Regions from separate parts of the Homo sapiens genome. Here all the other regions are linked to region 1. Evidence: promoter capture Hi-C in human tissues and cell types (Jung and others, 2019). All regions are on one chromosome and are shown on one strand. Each heading gives the region's core, a stretch centred on a gene start or on the middle of the fragment in contact. The rest is flanking DNA. Distances are from core to core; before and after follow the strand shown.

Evidence for each region. The method cuts DNA at HindIII sites, captures the fragments that hold promoters and counts their contacts. A contact is called where the count stands out against the background at its distance.
Region 2: a contact is called between a fragment that was not itself captured here and the fragment with the promoter of TMEM63A in region 1, in 2 of the 25 tissues and cell types used here (adrenal gland and mesenchymal stem cells).
Region 3: a fragment that was not itself captured here is called in contact with the fragment with the promoter of TMEM63A in region 1 in 1 of the 25 tissues and cell types used here (IMR-90 fibroblasts).
Region 4: a fragment that was not itself captured here is called in contact with the fragment with the promoter of TMEM63A in region 1 in 2 of the 25 tissues and cell types used here (mesendoderm cells and spleen).

What each region holds. Positions count from the first base shown.
Region 1 is chr1:225,880,694-225,885,530 of GRCh38, reverse strand. It overlaps TMEM63A (transmembrane protein 63A), which reads left to right and starts at 3,151. Exons shown (of 25, transcript NM_014698.3): 1 at 3,151-3,227. RefSeq lists enhancers at 2,233-2,282, 2,343-2,392, 4,595-4,837 and silencers at 2,903-3,062, 3,623-3,742. The HindIII fragment of the contact is 9,047 bases long and covers 1,553-4,837 here.
Region 2 is chr1:225,578,417-225,583,146 of GRCh38, reverse strand. All of the region lies in intron 1 of ENAH (ENAH actin regulator), which reads left to right. Among named protein-coding and RNA genes, the nearest start is that of ENAH, 72 kb to the left of the region's middle. The HindIII fragment of the contact is 7,894 bases long and covers 1-4,730 here.
Region 3 is chr1:225,609,902-225,615,364 of GRCh38, reverse strand. All of the region lies in intron 1 of ENAH (ENAH actin regulator), which reads left to right. Among named protein-coding and RNA genes, the nearest start is that of ENAH, 40 kb to the left of the region's middle. RefSeq lists an enhancer at 1-639. The HindIII fragment of the contact is 7,233 bases long and covers 167-5,463 here.
Region 4 is chr1:225,376,554-225,382,016 of GRCh38, reverse strand. DNAH14 (dynein axonemal heavy chain 14) reads right to left here. Exons shown (of 86, transcript NM_001367479.1): 79 at 4,581-4,780; 80 at 1,695-1,858; 81 at 438-634. Among named protein-coding and RNA genes, the nearest start is that of LBR, 49 kb to the left of the region's middle. The HindIII fragment of the contact is 3,469 bases long and covers 455-3,923 here.

The sequences.
Region 1 (4,837 bases), core at 1,902-4,401:
GGTAAAGATCTTGGTTAGGTAATACATGAAACTAGGATTAAAATGCTTTCAGGGCCAGCACGATGGCTCACTTCTGTAATCCCAGCACTTTGGGAGGCCGAGGTGGGCGGATCACTTGAGGCCAGGAGTTCAAGACCAGCCTGGCCAACATGGTGAGAGTGCATTTCTACTAAAAATACAAAAATTAGCTGGGCATGGTGGTGTGCGCCTATAATTCCAGCCACTCGGGAGGCTGAGGCATGAGAATCGCTTAAACCCAAGAGGCGGAGGTTGCAGTAAGCTGAGATCACACTACTGCACTCCAGCCTGGGCAATAGAGTGAGATTCTGTCTCAAAAATAAAATAAATAAAAATAAAATGCATTCTGATTCTAGAATCTATGGTACCTGCCCTCCCAGAATTGATACAGAAATTTCTTTTTTTTTTTTTTTGAGACGGAGTCGCCCAGGCTGGAGTACAGTGGCAGGAGTGCAGTGGCGCGATCTCCGCTTACTGCAAGCTCCGCCTCATGGGTTCACGCCATTCTCCTGCCTTAGCCTCCCGAGTAGCTGGGACTACAGGTGCCCGCCACCACGCCCGGCTAATTTTTTTGTATTTTTAGTAGAGATGGGGTTTCACCATGTTAGCCAGGATGGTCTCTATCTCCTGACCTTGTGATCCGCCCACCTCGGCCTCCCAAAGTGCTGGGATTACAGGCATGAGCCACCGCGCCCGGCCAATACTGAAATTTTTTTGTTCTTGACACTTTGACTTTCCTGGGCATAGTGACTGGGCTTTATTCCAATCCTACTTGCATCAAAATAAAATCTGTGATCAAAATTATCATCTATACTTAGAGAAGAAAATAAAGCTTCAGAGGATCTGGAATTTATAGCTGTAAGAGCTGTGCAGCTGGGCGCGGTGGCTCACGTCTATAATCCTGAGGATCACCTGAGGTTGGGAGTTTGAGACCAGCCTGACCAACATAGAGAAACCCCGTCTCTACTAAAAGTACAAAATTAGCCGGGTGTGGTGGCACATGCCTATAATCCCAGCTACTTGGGAGGCTGAGGCAGGAGAATCGCTTGAAGCCAGGAGGTGGAGGTTGCAGTGAGCTGAGATCACACCACTGTACTACAGCCTGGGCGACAGAGTGAGACTGTGTCTCAATAAGTAAATAATTAATTAAAAATTAAAAAATAAAATAGTGATTTTACAAGCACTTCACACAACTGACATAACAAAGGCTGTGGCTATCTCAACTCACATATCGATCCATCAAGGCCTTCTCTTGATTTTGAAATAACCTTAACCTACTCAAGAACAAATTTAGAAATCCTTTCTCTCTCTGAAATCTTTGTCAGTGGCTCCAGCATTCTAATTACCAAGACCGGAACCTTGCACTTGCCTGGACCCATGGCACAGACCAGACAGGTGGGGGCACCATTCATTGAGGAAGGAAGGAGGACAGGCAGGTGCGGGAGTGGGGAGTGGAAGAAAGATTGGACAGGGACAGTCTAAGGAGCCAACGGGGAGTCCAGGGGCCACACCCAGGACTCTGCAGACCGTCAGATGTGGAGGTAAGAGAGCAGGGAGGGGGGATGGCCAGGCGCAGCTATGGAGGGACAAGGGCAGAGATGATACTGGCGGGGGGCATAGAGGAAAAACCCTGGAAAATAACTAGTGGCTAGAGCTTTGGGGAGAGAAGGGGAAAGACAGATGGGACAGAAAAGAACTGAGAGAGGCAGGAAGAGACCCTCCCCACCCCACTCCTGGACAGCCACAGACTGGCGCTAGAATCAGGGACAGGGAGGTAAGGAGGAATTTTTTTTTTTTTTTTTTTTTTTTTGAGACAGAGTTTCGCTCTTGTTGCCCAGGCTGGAGTTCAATGGTGAAATCTCAGCTCACCGCAACCTCCGCCTCCCAGGTTCAAGCGATTCTCCTGCCTCAGACTCCCTAGTAGCTGGGATTACAGGCATGTGCCACCACACCCGGCTAATTTTGTATTTTTAGTAGAGACGGGGTTTCTCCATGCGGGTCAGGCTGGTCTCGAACTCCAGACCTAAGGTGATCCGCCCACCTCGGCCTCCCAAAGTGCTGGTATTACAGGCATGAGCCACCGCGCCCGGCCATAAGGAGGATATTTTTATGCCGTTACAGAAAAAGATGAAAGCTCAGAAATGGAAGGGAGGTCGGAGAACCTGCAAAGGCATGCATGTGGGGTGAGGACTGCTCAGAGCTCAGAGAGGGGTGCTGGAAGGGACCTGAGAGGAAGCTTTGGTCCAACCACTCATTTCACAGATAGGGAAACAGGGGCCTGCGGACGGGTTGGTTTGCTCCTTGATTCCCAGGGCGCGCGGTCCTCCCCGAACCCAGCCTCGCTTCCCGCGCAGCGCCCAGCAGTCCCTGGCGCGGCGGGCCGGCCCTGCCCTCGCGAGCTTGCGGTCCGGTTGTGGAGGCCACCGGCTCCCTGGAAACATTTGGCTCCCGGCCGGGAGGCATGCCGCGCTCTCGGACCTGGGCTGGAGTAGGTGCCCTTGGCGGCCCTGGCTCGAGCAGTAATGGACTAGCCCCAGGGGGCGTTGGAAATGCTGCGACCCGCCCCCACATTTTTGCCCGAACGGAGACCCTCCGGGCTTTCACGGTCCGGCCTTCTACAGCGGCGGGGGAGCCGTGGCCTCTTGCAGGGCGCTCCGCGCGGTTCCCGACTACCCGGAGCCGAGGTGCGGGCTGAATCCTGCTGAGCTCCCCATGCTACCACCCCCGCAACCCCACTCTCCCGGGGCGGGTCTAAGAGCTCTTCGGGGAAATTCAAAGCACTACAGGGACCAACGTTTGCAGATGCTCTCCCTGCGCCGCGACCACCCTGTGCTTGGCCCAGTTCTCCCGGAGGCGTCCAGAGACTGGGCTCGTGCCGGGGGACGGAAGAGGGTGCGCCCCGGCGGATCCCTTCTTGGAGCCTGGACGTGAGCTGGCCGGTCCGGGGCTTGCAGACCTCCGGGAGGAGCTGCGGGGCTGAGCGGCGACCAGGAGGCCAGGCCGGGGCAGAGGACCGCCGAGGGCCACCGCGGGAGGCGCAGTCAGCTGCGTACAGGCTTGCGCCGCCGCGGGCCAAGACTCCAAATTGGGAAAGGGGTGGCCGCAGCTCTGCGCATGTGCAGGAGGCGCCGGAGTTTCACTTTGTAACTTTTAAGTGGTCGGAACACGCCCCGCGCTGCTGGGTCCCGCCAGACACGCCGCCGCCGCAGGTACAGGGGACAGGGGGCGTGAGGAGGGGCAATGCACCCTCCGCCTTTCCCGGGACGTGCGCGCCAGGTGTCCGGTTCCGGAACGGCTCCCAGCCTACGCAGACCCCAGAGCCCCCGACCCCAAGCAGGGGGTGACGACGCGGGATTGGGTGGGAGGAGAGGGTCCGGGCAGCGCCTCCATTCCAGCCCTGCGCTCCTTGGGAATTCCTGGCGGCTTTTCAGGACTTTCCTCTCCGGCTTTTCGCTTTCAGGGCTGGTATCTCCTTCTTCCCCACCCCTCTCTTTGGGATTTGTCGGCGGAGTCCGACCTCCCACCTAACTAGGAGTGCAGCTATGGGCTCCTCGGACCCTATACGAGGCCGGGCTGGGAAAGGGCCAAGCGTCCGACTCTCCTGACGCCAGGAAGGCAGAGGCCACCCCTCGGGCTGTTCCTGGGTGACCACTTCCTGCAGCCTTGGCGGAGTCCTGAGGAGGGAGGCTGGGGACTCGGGGACTGGGGGGAAGGGCGGGGGCGGAAAGGGTGAGGCGAGCTCTGCTAAGAAACCAAATCCGCAAAGGTTCCAGCACCTGATAAGACTAGCTACCTGAGGCCCTGGAGGGGCCTTGGTCATTCAGCCCCAGGCAGGTGGTGTCCTCTTCAAGGGCAGGGGTGGACAGCGTGGCGGACCCACTGACCCTCCCTTGACACCTCTCAGGTCATCCTCAAGTCTGCTGTGCCTTCAAGGGGGATATGAACGGAAGCCGAGGCTCCTTTTCCCTTCACACGCCCCTCTCCTTTGTTTAGTGTGGGGGCAAAGGTCTCTCCTAGCTGTTCGTTGGGCTCTAACAGAGAAGACGTCAGGTGGGATCCTGCCCTTGTGTTTCCCATTAGCTGGAGGGGCGACTTAAAATAAAGGCAGACAGCTTCTAATTGCTTGCTAGGGCCGGGTCCTGGGCTAAGTGCTTTACAGGTGTTGTTTGGGATCTGTGCCTCCCAACAGCTCCGTGAGAGAAAGTCATCACTCGCATTTCCTGGCGAAGGAAGCCAAGGCACAGAGTGGTTAGGCTGCTTGTCTGAACTGCGTGGTGCTGAGACCCTAACTCCAGAGCCTGCTCACATAATCCCTGAGCCACACTGCCTCTGGTTTCAGCCAGGGGCTGTGTCATTTCCTTTGTGCTCCAGGGTAGGAGGTAAACAGTTGTCCAGGTTACTGGGTCCTGTTTGGTGTTGCCATAAGGAGAAGTTTGTACTTTACTTTGCAACCTTATTCTGCATCTGAAAGACCAGAGTTAGCTCCTGAGGCAGAAGGCCTGGAGCTGCTTGTAGTTTCGCTATTGTCATCACAGGATTGAAAGATTTGGTGATGATAAAATTACCCTGAATTTGTACGGGCCTTCTTGCAAGAACGAACAATATCCATATACTTCCTGCAACATTCTGCTGGTATTTCTAGAGCTTGTCAAGTTGACCACCAGGCCAGTCCTTGCTGCCAATGGAGACTGGCAGTGGATTAGCATAGGTAGTTTACTTTGGCAAATTTAGACCAGCTGTTGGATTTAGCCCTCTCCCACTGGCCACAATCAGACGCTTGCCTGCACATGGGTTGAACTTTGGGTTGGGAGCGTGAAGT
Region 2 (4,730 bases), core at 1,677-4,176, 300 kb after region 1:
CTTAAAATATCTTTATTTGCCTTCATTTTTAAAGAATATTTTCCCTGGATATGGAATTCTAGATTGGCAGCTTTGTATTTGAGCTCTTTAAAGATGTTGTTTTATTGTCTCTGTTCTCTTTTGTTTCTGCAGTACAATATGAAGATGTCTGTGGTCATCCAATTTATTGTTCTTCTTTATGTAAAGTTTCATTTTTCTCTAGCCATTTCAAGTATCTTCGTCTTCAACTGTGATATACCTACTTGTGGTTGTTTTTAGATTGAATATGCTTTGCTCTTTTTTGCGGAGAGTGGGGAGTTGTCCCAGACTCTTACACATATTAATATGTTAGCCCCAATGATACTGTCCCACAGATCTGTATAACTTGGTTGGACTCAAAACAGCAAATTCTGTCTTTTAGGCAGTGGGTCATATTTTGGTTCAGCTCTTTTAGTTACTTGGAAACTGCCCTACACATGAGTAGATCAGGGATCATCCAGAGATTTAGGCAGAGTTTATATACAGAATTTGGGGTTCCTTCCTGCCCACTGGCTCATTTTCCTCCCAGGAATTTCCTCTCATTTTGCAGCAGCTATGGATTGCCCTGAACTCTATCCTTTTATCTTTAAGCTAGAAAGTCTGTGGGGGTTTCTGTTGGAGTTTTAGCTCTCCCATGTAGCACAGACCAGGACCAGTTGTCAGGCTAAAAGCTGTAAACATCAGAGAACTCTCCCCGTATTATTCCTTTCTTAAAAGAGTTGACTCCCTTCTTCTCATTCTCCAGTGCCTTCCTGCATTAGTCCGTTCTTTTCACTGCTATAAATAAATACCTGAGCTTGGGTAATGTATAAAGAACAGAAGTTTAATTGGCTTACGGTTCCATAGGCTTTACAAGAATCATGATGCTGGCTTCCGGGGAGGCCTCAGGAAACTTACAGTCATGGCGGAAGGCAAAGGGGGAGCTGGCACTTCCTGTGGCTGGAGCAGGAGCAAGAGAGAGAGAGGGGGGGAAGACAACCAGATCTCATGAGAACTTACTATCAAAGGAATAGCACCAAGGGGATGTTGCTAAACCATTCAGAAAGGACGACCCTCATTATCCTGTCACCTTGCACCAGGCCCCACCCCCAACATTGGGGATTACAGTGACATGACATTTGGGCAGGGACACAGATCCAAACCATACATTTCATATAGTTGTTCTATAAATTTTATCCAGAGATGAGGATTGCTTGAGCTCAGGAGTTAGAGACCAGCCTTGGCAAGATAGGGAGATCCCATCTCTACCAAAAATTAAAAAAAAAAAAAAAAATTAGCTGGGTGTGGTGGTGCGTGCCTGTGGTTTGTCCCAGCTACTTGGGAGGCTGAGGTAGGAGGATTGCTTGGGCCTGGGAGGTAGAGGATGCAGTGAGCACCACTGCACTCCAGCCTGGGTGACGGAGTGAAACCCTGTCTCAGAAAAAAATTCTTTTTAATTTTAATCCAGAGTTTATAGTTTTATCTATGGGAGGGTCATTTGGAAAGTTGGCCATTACTTGGCCAGAAGCAGAACCCTCCCTGCTTACATTTTGAGAAAAATAGATTGAGATTCTATAGTATTCTGCTTTAGTTTTTCTTTCTTGATCTCATATGGTACTTGTCTTTTGCTGACACTATTCATTCATTGAAATTAATAACCTTGCAAAATAAAAATATAAGAAGTCAGTGTGGCTCACCCTCCACCCTCCACTCCCACTCCATCTTTCATCCCGTTTTTATTTCCACGTCTGTCTAACTTGGCTCTGCCTGGTGCCTTTATAGCTAAAATTAGCCACACTTGATATTTTTAACTCTACGGTGCTTGGAAAGTATTTTGAGAGGCTTTGCCATATAACTTCATGAAAATAATGTGAGGAAAAGAAGAACTACAGGAAACAGGTGAAATAATCTATTCAGTTACTGAGAAAAGTTTCTTATTAATGGGAGAATTTATTAAGATAGGGAAGTATGTGTTGCCAAGTGAAGTGTTTTCCCACATTTTTCTTTTTTTTCTGTGACCATTTCTAGATGTCTGTACTTTTTGTGAACTCTCATGCTGTGAATGACGGTTTAGGTTTGCTGGTGCACTGGGAATTGATCTTTGAAAATTACAAGTCCAGTTAAAAAAAGATGGGTGGCCAGACGAAGAATCTGAGCCCTGTGTGCCTATATGTGTGCTAAAAGTCACGGAGCTTATGAAATCTGAGGTAATCTTGGCTTTTTTTTTTTTTTTTTTTGGTTTTTTTCTTGAGACAGAGTCTCGCCCTGTTGCCCAGGCTGGAGTACAGTGATGCGATCTCGGCTCACTGCAACTTCCACCCTCCCAGGCTTCAGCCTCCCAAGTAGCTGGGATTACGGCACGAGACACCATGGCTGGCTAATTTTTGTATTTTTAATAGAGACAGGGTTTCACCATGTTGGCCAGGCTGTTCTCGAAGTCCTGATCTCAAATGATCCACCCACCTTGGCCTCCCAAAGTGCTGGGATTACAGGCGTGAATTGCACCCGGCCCAATCTTAAGTAGTTTAAGGTCTTGGGGTCAGGCACGAGGGAGTGAAGGGGTAGTGTGTTACTTATAGCCACACAATAAATTACACAAAGTTTTAGTGGCTTAAAACGTCACGTATTTATTACACAGTTTCTGAGGGTCAGGATTCTGGGTTTGGCTTAGGTGGTTCCTCTAGCTCAGGGTCTTTCATAAATGCAGTCAAAATGTTGGCCAGGGCTGCAGTCTCAACTGAAGTCATCACGGGGGGAGGAGGATCTGCTTCTAAGCTCATTCACATTAATGGATTGGATTTAGTTGCATGCCAGCTGTTAGACTGAGGGCCTCATTTTATTCCTGATAATTGTCTCGTGTGGGCCTCTCCATAAGGTGGTGGCAAGCTAGATGGAAGCCAGAGTCACTTCGTAAATTAACCTTGGAAGTGACATTCCATATATATATATATGTATTTTTTTTCCCATATTCTGTTCAGTAGAGGTAAGTCTCTGGGCATGAATACTAGGAGGTGTGGAGATTATTAATAGCTATTTTTTTGTTGTTGATGAGTTGAGGGTGTGGGGAAGAAGAAGAAGGTATAATAAATTTTTATTTCTTACAGTGTATACTTAGAGTAGGAACCAGAATCACACAGTAGGGTGAGAAATTTTAAAAGCAAAGTTTACCACTAGGAAGCTATGTGATGTCTTACATAGGAAGAACAGCAAAGCATCTCAAATAAAGGAACATAACAAAACTTTAAACATTGAAAGGTTCTTTTTCTGTAGTTTTAGGTTGAAGTTTTATCTTAATTTTCTAGTCAATATTTTTCTACACTGACTTGGATGAAAATATTTATAACTGAAAATATATTATTTCTTTTTACCTATTCTTTTTGAAAGATGTAAAGACATATTCTTCTAATTGGCTAATAGATTTCAAAGTTCATGTGCGTCCTGTAATGTGCTAAACTCATACATTGTGTAGTAACAAAGTTGGAGTAGTTTAAATAAAATAATGGAACGATAGCTGCTATTCTATTCTTCATGTTTCTGTGTGCATGTCTGTGTGAATCTCTATCTGTATCTATAGTTTGATGTCTAAAATGTTTCCCACAGATTTTGTCTTTCATGTAATTCTTTGAAGAAAGTTGAGATTCTATTTGAAGGAAACTTTCCCTGGAGTATTAATTTTATGAATAAGTTTCTTCCTACTGCCTTAAAAAAATCTGATATTCTAGACATGTTTTTGTTATAGGTTAACATTGTATCTTCAGTAATGAAACCTTTAAAATAAACCTTGGTTATTTCTAAAAAGAACATAAATTTCAGCAAATAAATTCTTTCCTCTTAGCTTCAAATTAAATATAACATGAAGTATAATGTGGAAATAATAGAAAATATGTGAAGAGGTAATTTTGTGGAACTAATATAGTTTATAGTCAGAATCTTTCTTTTTTTAGTAGAGTGGTTGCAAGTCCAGACCTGGAAGCAGACTGGCTGCTTTAAGTCCCATTTCTGCCTCTCCCTACAGTATGTCTTTAGTCAAGTTAATTCACTTCTTGTGTCTCCATTTCCTATCTGTAAAATGGGGATATTAACGGTACCTACCACATAAGGTTGTTGAAGAAATAAGCGAATTAATAAAGGCAAAGCACATAGAACCATATATGGCACTTAGTAAGTACTATATACATATCCTTATTTTTTACTATTATTAGTAGTATTATTAGTATCAACACTGGCTCAGTAACTGCTTATGTCACTTAATTGTCTCTGGGATTTAGGTCTTTCATAACATAAACCAAGAGATTTGGATTCTTTATAACTGACTAACTGGGGAGCTGTTAGTCTCTATTAGATAGTAATTCACTGATAAGATTTTTCCTCATTGATAGGATTTTTTGTGCCTACAGTTAAACAATACTCTGAAATATTTATAGACAGTTGTAGAGTGCATTCTTCTGAAACTGTTGGTTTTAATTTTTCCAAGTAACGTTTGCTTTATCTTTGTTAATTAGTCTTTCATATTACAAGAAAGAGCATTGCTTGAATTTTTTCTGTGCTGCTTAGCAGCAGGCTGTCTTTGTCATTATGTGGCCAGCTAGAGTTGCACACACAGAGCAGGTTCCCACCCTAGATAATCTCAGTCTTACTAGTTTGTTAATATTTCTTTCTTTTCTTCCTTTTTTAAGAGAGAGTGTCTCGCTCTGTCGCCCAAGCTGGAATGCAGTGGCTCAGTAATAGCTCAC
Region 3 (5,463 bases), core at 2,534-5,033, 270 kb after region 1:
CCAGCCTGGGCACCATTGAGCACTGAGTGAGGGAGACTCCGTCTGCAATCCCGGCACCTCGGGAGGCCGAGGCAGGCAGATCACTCGCGGTCAGGAGCTGGAGACCAGTCGGGCCAACACGGCGAAACCCCGTCTCCACCGAAAAAATACAAAAACCAGTCAGGCGTGGCGGCGCGCGCCTGCAATCCCAGGCACTCCGCAGGCTGAGGCAGGAGAATCAGGCAGGGAGGTTGCAGTGAGCCGAGATGGCGGCAGCACAGTCCAGCCTCCGCTCGGCATCAGAGGGAGACCGTGGAGAGAGAGGGAGAGGGAGAGGGAGAGGGAGACCGGGGAGAGGGCATCAGAGGGAGACCGTGGAGGGAGAGGGAGACCGGGGAGAGGGAGAGGGAGAAAAGTATTACTCTTAAGGATTTGTGTATGGAGAAGGGTATTGAGGTTGTGGAATAGAGGTAGGATTGGTGTTGGAGGAAGGGTTACTTACCTTATGGAATCGGAAATTTGAGACAGGTTTCTGAGTGAAAATAGGTAAATGTGGTATTGTAATATAATAAGAAATACATATTTGGTCTCTGTTCCTGGTTCCTGGCACACAGCTCTTAAAACCCTTGGACTGACCAAAGTACTGTAATAAATGTCTTTTTGTATGCTAATGAGATGACTGGTGGCTGGGGCTCCTGGATAGCTTCAGGGTGGGGGAGCTGGTTGCTAGGAGAAGCAACCAACCTATCTCCTGGGAGGGGAAGGGGAAGAGCCTGAAGGATGAGTTGATAACCAGTGGCCAGTGATTTAATCAGTCATGTCTACATAATGAAGCCTCTATACAAACCCAAAGGATAGAGTCTGGAGAGCTTCCAGATGGATGAGCAAGAACACATCCAAGTGCAGCGATTGGGGGTACATCCCAGGTACAGGAGATCAGAAACTCTTGCTCTTAGGACCCTTCCAGACCTTCCCCATGTGTCTCTTCGTCTGGCTATTCATTTGTATCCTTTAAAATATTAGTATTGGCTGGGCACAGTGGCTCACACCTGTAATCCCAGCACTTTGGGAGGCCGAGGTGGGTGGATCACCTGAGGTCAGGAGTTCGAGACCATCCTTGCCAACATGGGGAAACCCCGTCTCTACTAAAAATACAAAAATTAGCTGTGCATGGTGGTGGGCGCCTGTAATCCCAGCTACTTAGGAGGCTGAGGCAGGAGAATCACTTGAACCCAGTAGGTGGAGGTTGCAGTGAGCCGAGATTGTGCCATTGCACTCCAGCCTGGGCGACAGAATGAGACTCCATCTCAAAAAAAAAAAAAAATCTTTCTAATAAATGGGTAAACATAAGTAAAGTGTTTTCCTGAGTTCTGTGAGCTGCTCTAGCAAATTAAACTCTGGGGAGAGCTTATGGGAACCCTGATTTAGAGCTATTGGGCCAGAAGCACAGGTCACAACCTGGGGCATGAGATTGGCATTAGAAGTTGGGGTGGTCTTCTGGGACTGATCCCTTAACCTATGGGATGTGATGTTATTTCCACATAGTGTCAGAATTGAGTTAAATCATAACTCACTTAGTGTCTGCCAGAGAATCTGGTGTCAGGAGTGTGTTGTGTGAGAGTAGAAAAAACACTGTTTTTTTCCCCATCTTTAATAATAAAATATGCTATAAGGTGTAGTAGAGCATTATCCCTTATTAGGAAGAGTTTATAATTAGTTATTTTTGTTGTTATGGCTGAACCAGACCTTTGCTTTGTTCTCAGAAAATATCTAGCAAAGTTACACATTTTCTTTGGTTCAATAAGTGTTGTTTGTTGATCTAGTTGTATATTTAAAAATAGTGTTAAAAATAAAATATGTGCTTATTACACATAAAATTGACAAACTGAAAAAGTAGAAGGAACAAGTTAATCAACAAATATTTATTATCTTCACAAATATTTATTATTACCACCAGGCACTGTTCTCTGCCCTGGGGAAATGGTGTTAAACAAGTCATGTACCCAGGGGGCTTACATTCTGGTAGCTGAATGGAGGAGAAGGATGTACCAATAAGTCTGTTATTCTCAGTAAGTGTGAAAAAGATAAAATGTGTAGTGAGAAAAGATGGGTGGTGAAGGCAAGGCCTAACTTGGTTGGGGTGGTCACGGAAGGCTTCTTAGGGAGGGACGTTTGAGTTGCTCTGAAAGATGAGGAGGCAGTCATTGGAGAGCAGGGAAAAGAGTACTCTAAGCAGAAGAGGTCCAAAGGCCTTGCAATGAAAATGAGCTTGCTTTGTTCAAGGGACAGAAAGTAGGAAGAAAATAGTGTCCGTAGCAAAACCATAGGACACATACTGAGTCTTTGTAGATGTATACTTTGGCTTGTATTTTTAGAATTTGTATTCTGCTGTTTTAATATTTGCTTCATAATATAAACATTCTTCATTTCATACCTTAGTAAACATTTTTAGTGTTGACACAATTAATTTTGTAAATGTATCGTGGTTGACTTACCCATTCCCCAATAGTTTGGCATTTAGATCCCTCCTCCCCCCCTTTTTTTTGCATTATTGTAAGTATTACAGTGAGCACTTTGGATATAAAACTTTTTTGCTTCTTACGGTTGGTCCTCAGAAGGCAAAATATAAACTGGGGCAAAGATATGAATTATTTAGTATTTATTGCCAGAATATTTGGCAAAAGCTTTAGTTTATGTTCCAATTACCAAAGTGTAGAGAGTGTTTACTGTATCCTGGCCAGCATTAAGTATTATTTTTGTTTTGAAAATTTTTTTTGCTGTGGGAAAATGCAGATAACATAAAATTTACCATGGTAACCATTTAAAAGTGTACAATTCTGTGGCATTAAATAAATCCACAGTGTTGTGCAACCATTGCCACTATCTACTTCCAGAACTTTTTCATCACCCTAAGTGGAAAACCTTGTACCCACCAAGCAATCATTTCCCAATCCCTGTTCCCCATCAACCCCTGGCAGCCATGAATCTGCTTTCTGTCTCCATGGATTTGCCTATTCTGGACATTCCATGTAAATGGAATTATATAGTACATGGCTTTTTGTGTCTGGCTTCTGTGACTAAGCATAAAGTTTTCAGGGTTCATCCGTGTCATAGCAGTGTCAGTACGTCTTCCCTTTTTATGGCTAATATTCCATCGTTTGGATATACCACATTTTGATTATTTATTCATCTCTTGATGGACATTGGGTCATTTCCACCATTTAGCTCTTGTGAATAGAGCTGCTATGAAGATTTATGTATAAGTATTTGAATACCTGTTTTCAGTTTTTTCGGACATATATCTAGGAGTGGAATTGGCCGGGTTACATGATAGGTAATTTTCCATTTAGCTCATTGAGGACTGGCCAAACTGGTTTCCCCGTTGGCTGTGTGATTTCACATTCTCACCAGCAGTGGATGAGGGTTTTAATTTCTCCATATCCTCACGAATACATTATTTTTAAATTTTTTGTGTTTTGTTTTTTATGATAGCCATCCTAGTGAGTGTGATTTTTGATTTCATTGTGGTTTTTTATTTTCATTTCCCTAATGACTAAAAATGTTCAGCATCTCTTCATGTGCTTGTTGGCCGTTGAGTATTATCTTTTTCTCACTCTGTCACCTGTGCTGGAGTGCAGTGGTGTGAACACAGCTCACTGCAGCCTTGACCTCCTGGGCTCAGCTGATCCTCCCACCTCAGCCTCCTGAGTAGCCAGGACCAAAGATGTGGGCCACCACACCTGGCTAATTAAAAAATTTTTTTTTTGTCTGGGCAAGGTAGCTCATGCCTGTAATCCCAGCACTTTGGGAGGCTCGAGGCAGGTGGATCACCCGAGGTCAGTAGTTCAAGACCAGCCTGGCCAACATAGTGAAACCTCATCTCTACAAAATATATAAAAATTAGCTGGGCGTGGTGATGCACGCTTGTAGTCCCAGCTACTCAGGAGGCTGAGGGAGGAGAATCACTTGAATCTGGGAGGCAGAGGTTGCAGTGACCAGAGATCGCGCCACTGCACCCCAGCCTGGGCAACAGAGCAAGACTCTGTCTCAATAAATAAATAAATACGTAAATAAATAAATAAATTTTTTTTTTTGGTAGAGACAAGGTTGCCCAGGCTGGTCTAGAACTCCCAGGCTCATACAGTCCTTCCACCTTTGGCTCCCAAAGTGCTGGGATTACAGGGACTATTATCTTTTTTCAACTTGAAATTTTTATTGAAATATAAGATGTACAGAAAAGGGCACATAGCACCAACTCAGTACACATGTGTAACCATCACTTTATGCCCTCTTCTAGTCACAGTCTTTCACCAAAGAGTAACCCCACCTGACCCAGAACAGCGTCAATTAGTTTTGCCTGCTTTTGTACTCATGTGAATAGAATCACATAGAACATATTCTGTATCTGCCTTTTTCGGCCTAACGTTAGATCTGTGCCGTTCATCTGTATCATTCATTTTATTCTATTGTGTGAAATACTAGTTTATTCATTCTAAGGTTGATGGACATTTGGATTGGTTGCAGTTTTTGGATCTTATAATGTCGTGAATATTCTGCTATTTGTTTTTTCTTGAGCGTGTATGTGGGCCAAATACAGCTTTTGGAGTGGTTGATCGTACTAGCGTTAAAATGTCGCCATTGGTGTAAATAATTCCTCTACTTTGTTGGCTGTTTCTTTTTTTTCTTTTAATTTTAGTTCTGTTTAGGCATGGAGAAGTTGTAAGTGGTTTTCTTTTGTTCATTTATTTGGTTAGTTTTAAGTTTGGATTGTGACCCCTTCATCCAGAGTTTTAAAATTGGAAGTCAGCTCTCTTGAGTCACATAATCTTGGTATGAAGTTTAAGATGAATGAAATGCAAGCATACTTGGGAAAAAAAAGAATTTTTTTTACTGGGGACCTATCGTTCTTTTCTTACCAAATGTTAAGAGTATCCCCCAATATTTTTATAGTAATTATAAAATCACAAATTTATTATAACCCCACAGTAGGTCCTAGAGACTAACTGGAACAGAAAGCAATATTGTTTTAATTGTTTGATCTTTGAGCTCTAGTAAACTTCTCTATCTTTTCTTATTTTCTTTTAAAATTACAAAATAATGCGTACATATTATAAAACATTTGAAAGTTACATAAGAAAATCAAAATAATGTCACTACTTGAGAGAAAATCACGTTAGTACATACACTTCCTGTTTGTTTTTAGGCAATGCTAGTTTTTTTTTTTTATTGAACATAATGTTCTATAATGTGATTTCCCCTAAATATACTGTGAATACTTTCCTCTGTAATTAAATATTATTCTAAAGCATGGTTTTAAAAAATTAGAGCATGATTTAAAAATTTAATTTTTATCATGTGGTATACATGTACATATTAATAATTTATATAGTCATGTAGTTTTACAAGGCTAATAAAAAAAGTAGGCCGGGCGCGGTGGCTCATGCCTGTAATCCCAGCACTTTGGGAGGCTGAGGCAGGCGGATC
Region 4 (5,463 bases), core at 940-3,439, 500 kb after region 1:
CTCTGTGCTGCCAGATCTTCCATGGCTTATTTTATTCCTGGTCTAATACATTTTGTGTTTTTACAATTTGGTCTTCTGTTTAAGACCATGACCCAGTAATTTCTTCATCATCTTGTTTAGCTTTGTTTTTATTTTAAAAGCAATTAAACTCAACACTTATAGTAATACCAAGAGTGCACCTACTTTGACATGAACTGCCATGATACATAGTTCACATACACAGATAGTGAGAACTAAGTGATGGTGCTGCCTGGCTAACAGTGACTGTTAAGAGGCATTCCAACTTCAGAGATGTGAAAATATGAAAAAGTACGTCAGCATCTTTTAAGAGTTACATATTTCATCACACAGATGCACCATTTACCTTCACCATTCCCTTGAACTTGGACATTTATTTCAAGCAAGCAAGAAAATAGGAAATAATAATAATTGCTTACCTGCCACAATGTAGGCACTCTCATATTAAGAAAAGAGTTAAATATTTCCTCCAATTCTTGGGTGAGGATGATCTCTCCTTTTATAGCAAGCTGAAGATCTTTTAAGGATTTATGTATGACAAATAATAACTTATCAAATCGTTTAATTTCTTGCTTCAAAAAGGTTAGCAAGACACAATGGATAAGGGGGTCGTGATCTGGATTTTAAAAAGAAATAAAATTTTGATATTTTACAGATTAAAAAGAGGCTTTACATGGAGGGACTTAGGCTTTGAAAGTTAAGGGAATTTTGTGTGTCTTGACCAGGGGTTGATAAACATTTTCTGTAGAAGGTCAGATAGCAAACATTTTAGGGTATGGGGACCACACCACCTCTGTGAAAGCTACTCAGCTCTCCCCTTGTAGTGTGGGTGCGGCCACACTATCTACTATGTGTGGATGCATAGACAATATGTCATGAGTAAGTGTGGCTGTGTTCCAGTAAAGCTTTACTTATGGCACTCAAATTGGAGTTTCATATAACATTTATGTGTCACAAACTATATTCCTTCTTTTGATTTTTTTTAACCATTAAAAAATGCAAAAGCCATTTTAGTTCACAGGCTGTACAAAAACAAATGGTGGGCTGGATTTGGCCTGCGAGCCCTAATTTGCTGACCTTTGATTGAGACTCAACAATGACACTGTTTTGATAAACTATTGCTCAATATTTGGTTCCCAAATAAACTTCTGCAAAGGGATAAAATATGGGTATTAAAATTTAACTGGGAAAATTATCATAGTCTAGCAATTTAGCCACTTAGAGCTGGGTTTGGAGTCATCTCTGGGCAATCAGGCTTCCTCTGTCTTCCTGGGCCTGCCCTGATTCCCCTTAGCTTCTTGGAGTCAAGTGGTCTTTCAGCAGAAGGTCCATCTAAACTTCCGCTGTTCCAGAAGGCAGAGAGGCAGAGAGAACAGGCACCTAGAACTCTTGACAATCTCCAAAGCAGAGTTGCTGCTTTCTAGTTTGCTACACTTGTTATTTCTTCACTTTTGATTTCAGTGCCACACGCTACCCACCCCCAAACTAAAGCGTGATTTTCTTCTGTGCTCTCTGTCTTTCAACTTGGAGAGAGGAGGCAGAGACTGAGTTTTCCATCTTATCTCAGTATTTTCACTTCTACAGAATTTTTGTCTTATCTTTACCTTACTCCTGACACCAGAGTCCTTTCTTGAGGAGAGTGAGGTAAGGGGAAAAAGCTCCTGTCCCATGCTCACCTTTGAGATTTTTAGAAAGAGACTCCCAAATGGAGCTTGACATCATGCTCTTCAATGTGCTTGGAGTTCCAACAGCAATTTCTTCTTTCTCCACTGTCAGTGGCAGCCGCTTTAGCAAGTCGGATAGAATTTCCATCACCAGTTCATCCTTACTCTGCTCAGGTCTGCAAAAAAAACCAAGAGAAGAATGAGACACAGAACAGGAAGTGGGGAGATGGGGAGAGATTTGTTAAAGGATTCAAGATTACTGGTAGACAGGAGGAATATGTTTAGTGTTCTATACCACTGTAGGATGAGTATAGGTAACAAAAATAGATTATACATCTTCAAATAGCTAGAAGAGAGGATACTGAAAGTTCCCAACACAAAGGATAAATGTTTGAGATGATGGACATATGAATTGCCCTGATCTGATCACTATACATTGTATGTATTGAAACATTACTATGTACCTCAGAAATATGTACAATTATTATGTCAATTAAAAAAATAAAAATTGGCTGGGCACAGTGGCTCATGCCTGTAATCCCTGCAATTTGGGAGGCCGAGGCAGACAGATCACTTGAGGTCAGGAGTTTGAGACCAGCCTGGCCAACATGGTAAAACCCTGTCTCTACTAAAAATACAAAAGTTAGCCAGGCATGGTGGGCGCCTGTAGTCTGAGCTACTCAGGAGGCTGAGGCACGAGAATCACTTGAACCCGGGAGGCAGAGGTTGCAGTGAGCCAAGATTATGCCACTGCACTCCAGCCTGGGTGACAGAGCGAGACTCTATCTCAAAAAAAAAATTTAAAAAAAGAAAAGGAAAGGAAAATAAAATAAAAGAAATCAAGAGAAAAACAAGCTACAGATCTATCTAATGTTAGAGGGTCCTCTGCTTAAGTTCCGTCTGAAGATAAATGTATCTTCACAGAACCACAAAATTATGCTATGGATGATCTTACAGAGACCATGGAATTCATTTCATTTTGTAGATGAGAAACTGTCCAATGTACTTTAGACATTTGCAAGGAAATATGTATTATAAAAGCTTTTTTAGGATTTCTTTGTAAAATAATCATCTGCATGCATCTGCAAGACAATGAAAAAGAGGAGGCAACTAAACAGAGCACGCTGAAGCAGCCGCATGGAACATTCCACTGCTTGCCTCATTCCTGTGTTGACACGAAGGGCTTCTTAATCACACACTCCGCGGGTGGTGACAGGAGGAGCGCGTGTCCAGGCCTAGGTGAGGCTGCGATACTATGCAAAACCACTAAACACTAGAGCTGGAAGAGCTCTTTGGAATCCTTTTAAAGATGATGAAACCAGGGCCCCGGGAGGTGGGAGGACCTCCTTAGACAGTTAGTGGATGAGTAGGAAATGGGGCACATCTCTTTTGAGTTCTGCTGCTCTATTTACTAGCCGGGACTGATTTTTCTTTTTCTTTTCTTTTTTTTTTTTTGGGACGGAGTTTTGCACTGTCACCCCAGCTGGAGTGCAGTGTTGCTATCTTGGCTCACTGCAACCTCCCCCTCCCGGGTTCAAGCAATTCTCTGCCTCAGCCTCCCGAGTAGCTGGGATTACAGGTGCTCACCACCATGCTGGCTAATTTTTTGTATTTTTAGTAGAGACGGGGTTTCACCATCTTGGCCAGGCTGATCTTGAACTCCTGACCTCGTGACCCACCCGCCTCGGCCTCCCAAAGTGCTGGCATCACAGGCGTGAGCCCACCGCGCCCGGCCAGGACTGATTTTTCAACAAACACTCCAGGTTTCACAGTCAAATGAATATTATCCTTCAAGGTAAGCAATAACCTTAAAGCTGCCAAGAAGTATTTAGTCCAACAGTGCTGCTTCCAAACCAGTTTACAGATCGCCTGAGGTCACATGGCTCCTTACTTTGTCATCACACTGTTTTGACTGTAAAGTTGATTTTCTCCTTAGAATTCAACCCAGGTAGCTTCAAATAATTCAAAAGGTCAAAAGGTGTCAAAAATCAAGCTTACCTTCAGAGGGCAAAGATTTGCTACCACTAAGGAAATTACATTGAATATGATAGATGTTTGGATTAAGTCCCACAGACAAGTCTCTAATAAGCAAAGGCAGCAAGACTGGGATAATTATAGCCTCTCAAAGTGACCAAAGGGACATTAATAAGCATATCTAGTATGTTTATTAAAAGCATTTCCTTATAATATGTTGGTATCTTAAATATTTGTAATGTTTAAGAGAATTGGGCCTCGTAATACCTTGTGTTAGATTGGGGTCAGTCTTGTGACCCCAATTAAAAGAGATAATTGAGAAACTGATTTATGATTTTAGGTTGAAATCTTGTTAGATTGATATAAAATATTAGGGAACAAGAAAATTTAAGATTCACCATATTTATTTGATTATTAGATTTATAAAAGTTACTCAAAGATTTGAGAAGGTCTGGAAGACAAATTGAAGTACATTAACTTTATAATGAATATTAATATATTTGAAAATGTTTAAGCTTATAAATGGGGTCAAACATTCAAATATCTTTTAAAAGTGTTAAAATTTGTTAGACGTACAAATTGAAAAATTAGAACTTAAATACATAAGGAACTCATTGAAGTAGAATTTAGTTTCTTTACCATGTAGACTATACTTTTCTATATATCTCTTCAAATGAATTTTTTTTTTAGACAGGGTCTCAGCCTCGCAAGTTACTGGGACTACAGGTGCTCACCACTACACTCAGCTAATTTTTGTATTATTTGTAGAGACAGGGTTTCACCATGTTGCTCAGAGTGGTCTCGAACTCCTGAGCTCAAGCAATCTGTCCACCTCAGCCTCCCAAGGTGCTGGGATTACAGGCATGAGCTGCCAGACCCAGCCTGATAATTTTTGACCAACAATTTTTCCTAGCGAGTTCTTACCTGATCATGAGGTTGGCAGTGGTAGTTTTTGGTTGCATGGCAATCAGATTTTCAATAAACTTTTCGCCCTGGGTCTCCCAGCAGCTCCTGATGGCCTCTGGGTGTATTCCTAAGACCTCGGGAAGGTCATCATCAGGTAAGGACTGGATAATGTGTATGTAGTCCTTTATGCTTGCAGATCCTGGAACTGGCAGACATATCTGAAAATTTAACATTTTGTTAGCTTTTTTCTTCAATCCTGCTACTTCTGAACACTTTGTTGGTTTTTGCCAGAGTAAGATACCTACTTTCAGTAATGCTTGAAGACAATATTTTCCCATGAAATTTTATACCGAAGGCTTTCTTATTTGCATGTGGTATATTATAGACACTGTCAAAAGCAACATTTGGGACTACTGTATTGTAATGTGCATATGATATGCATGTATAACTTTCTTTTTGGGAAAAGAGAGAAAGAAAAAAAAAACGCTTTAAAGGTGAGGGTGATTCTGACCACCCATAGATAATGAATGCAATAAGGCTTGAACAAATCATTTTACTTTAGTGAAACCTATAGAAGGAATGTGAGAATGATCTTAAGAATAATTGACCACTGACCAAGAAGAGAAATGCATTGTTCATATGGTCAGGAAAGTGGGTGATGGTGGCTTTCTTGATATCATTAAGGAAAATGTTGAAGAATTAATGAAGGTCAGAGGGAAAAATCAAATAACAGTCACTGATTAAAAAAATTACCTGCAGAAGAAGCAAGATTATAACAAAAAACAGGAAGAGCTGGCAAGCTGGAACTGTCATAAAATTCCTAGTGTTTTAAAGCAACTGAACAATTGAAATACAAATTTCAGAATACCCTTCTGTCATCTGATATAATTCTGCCAATGCA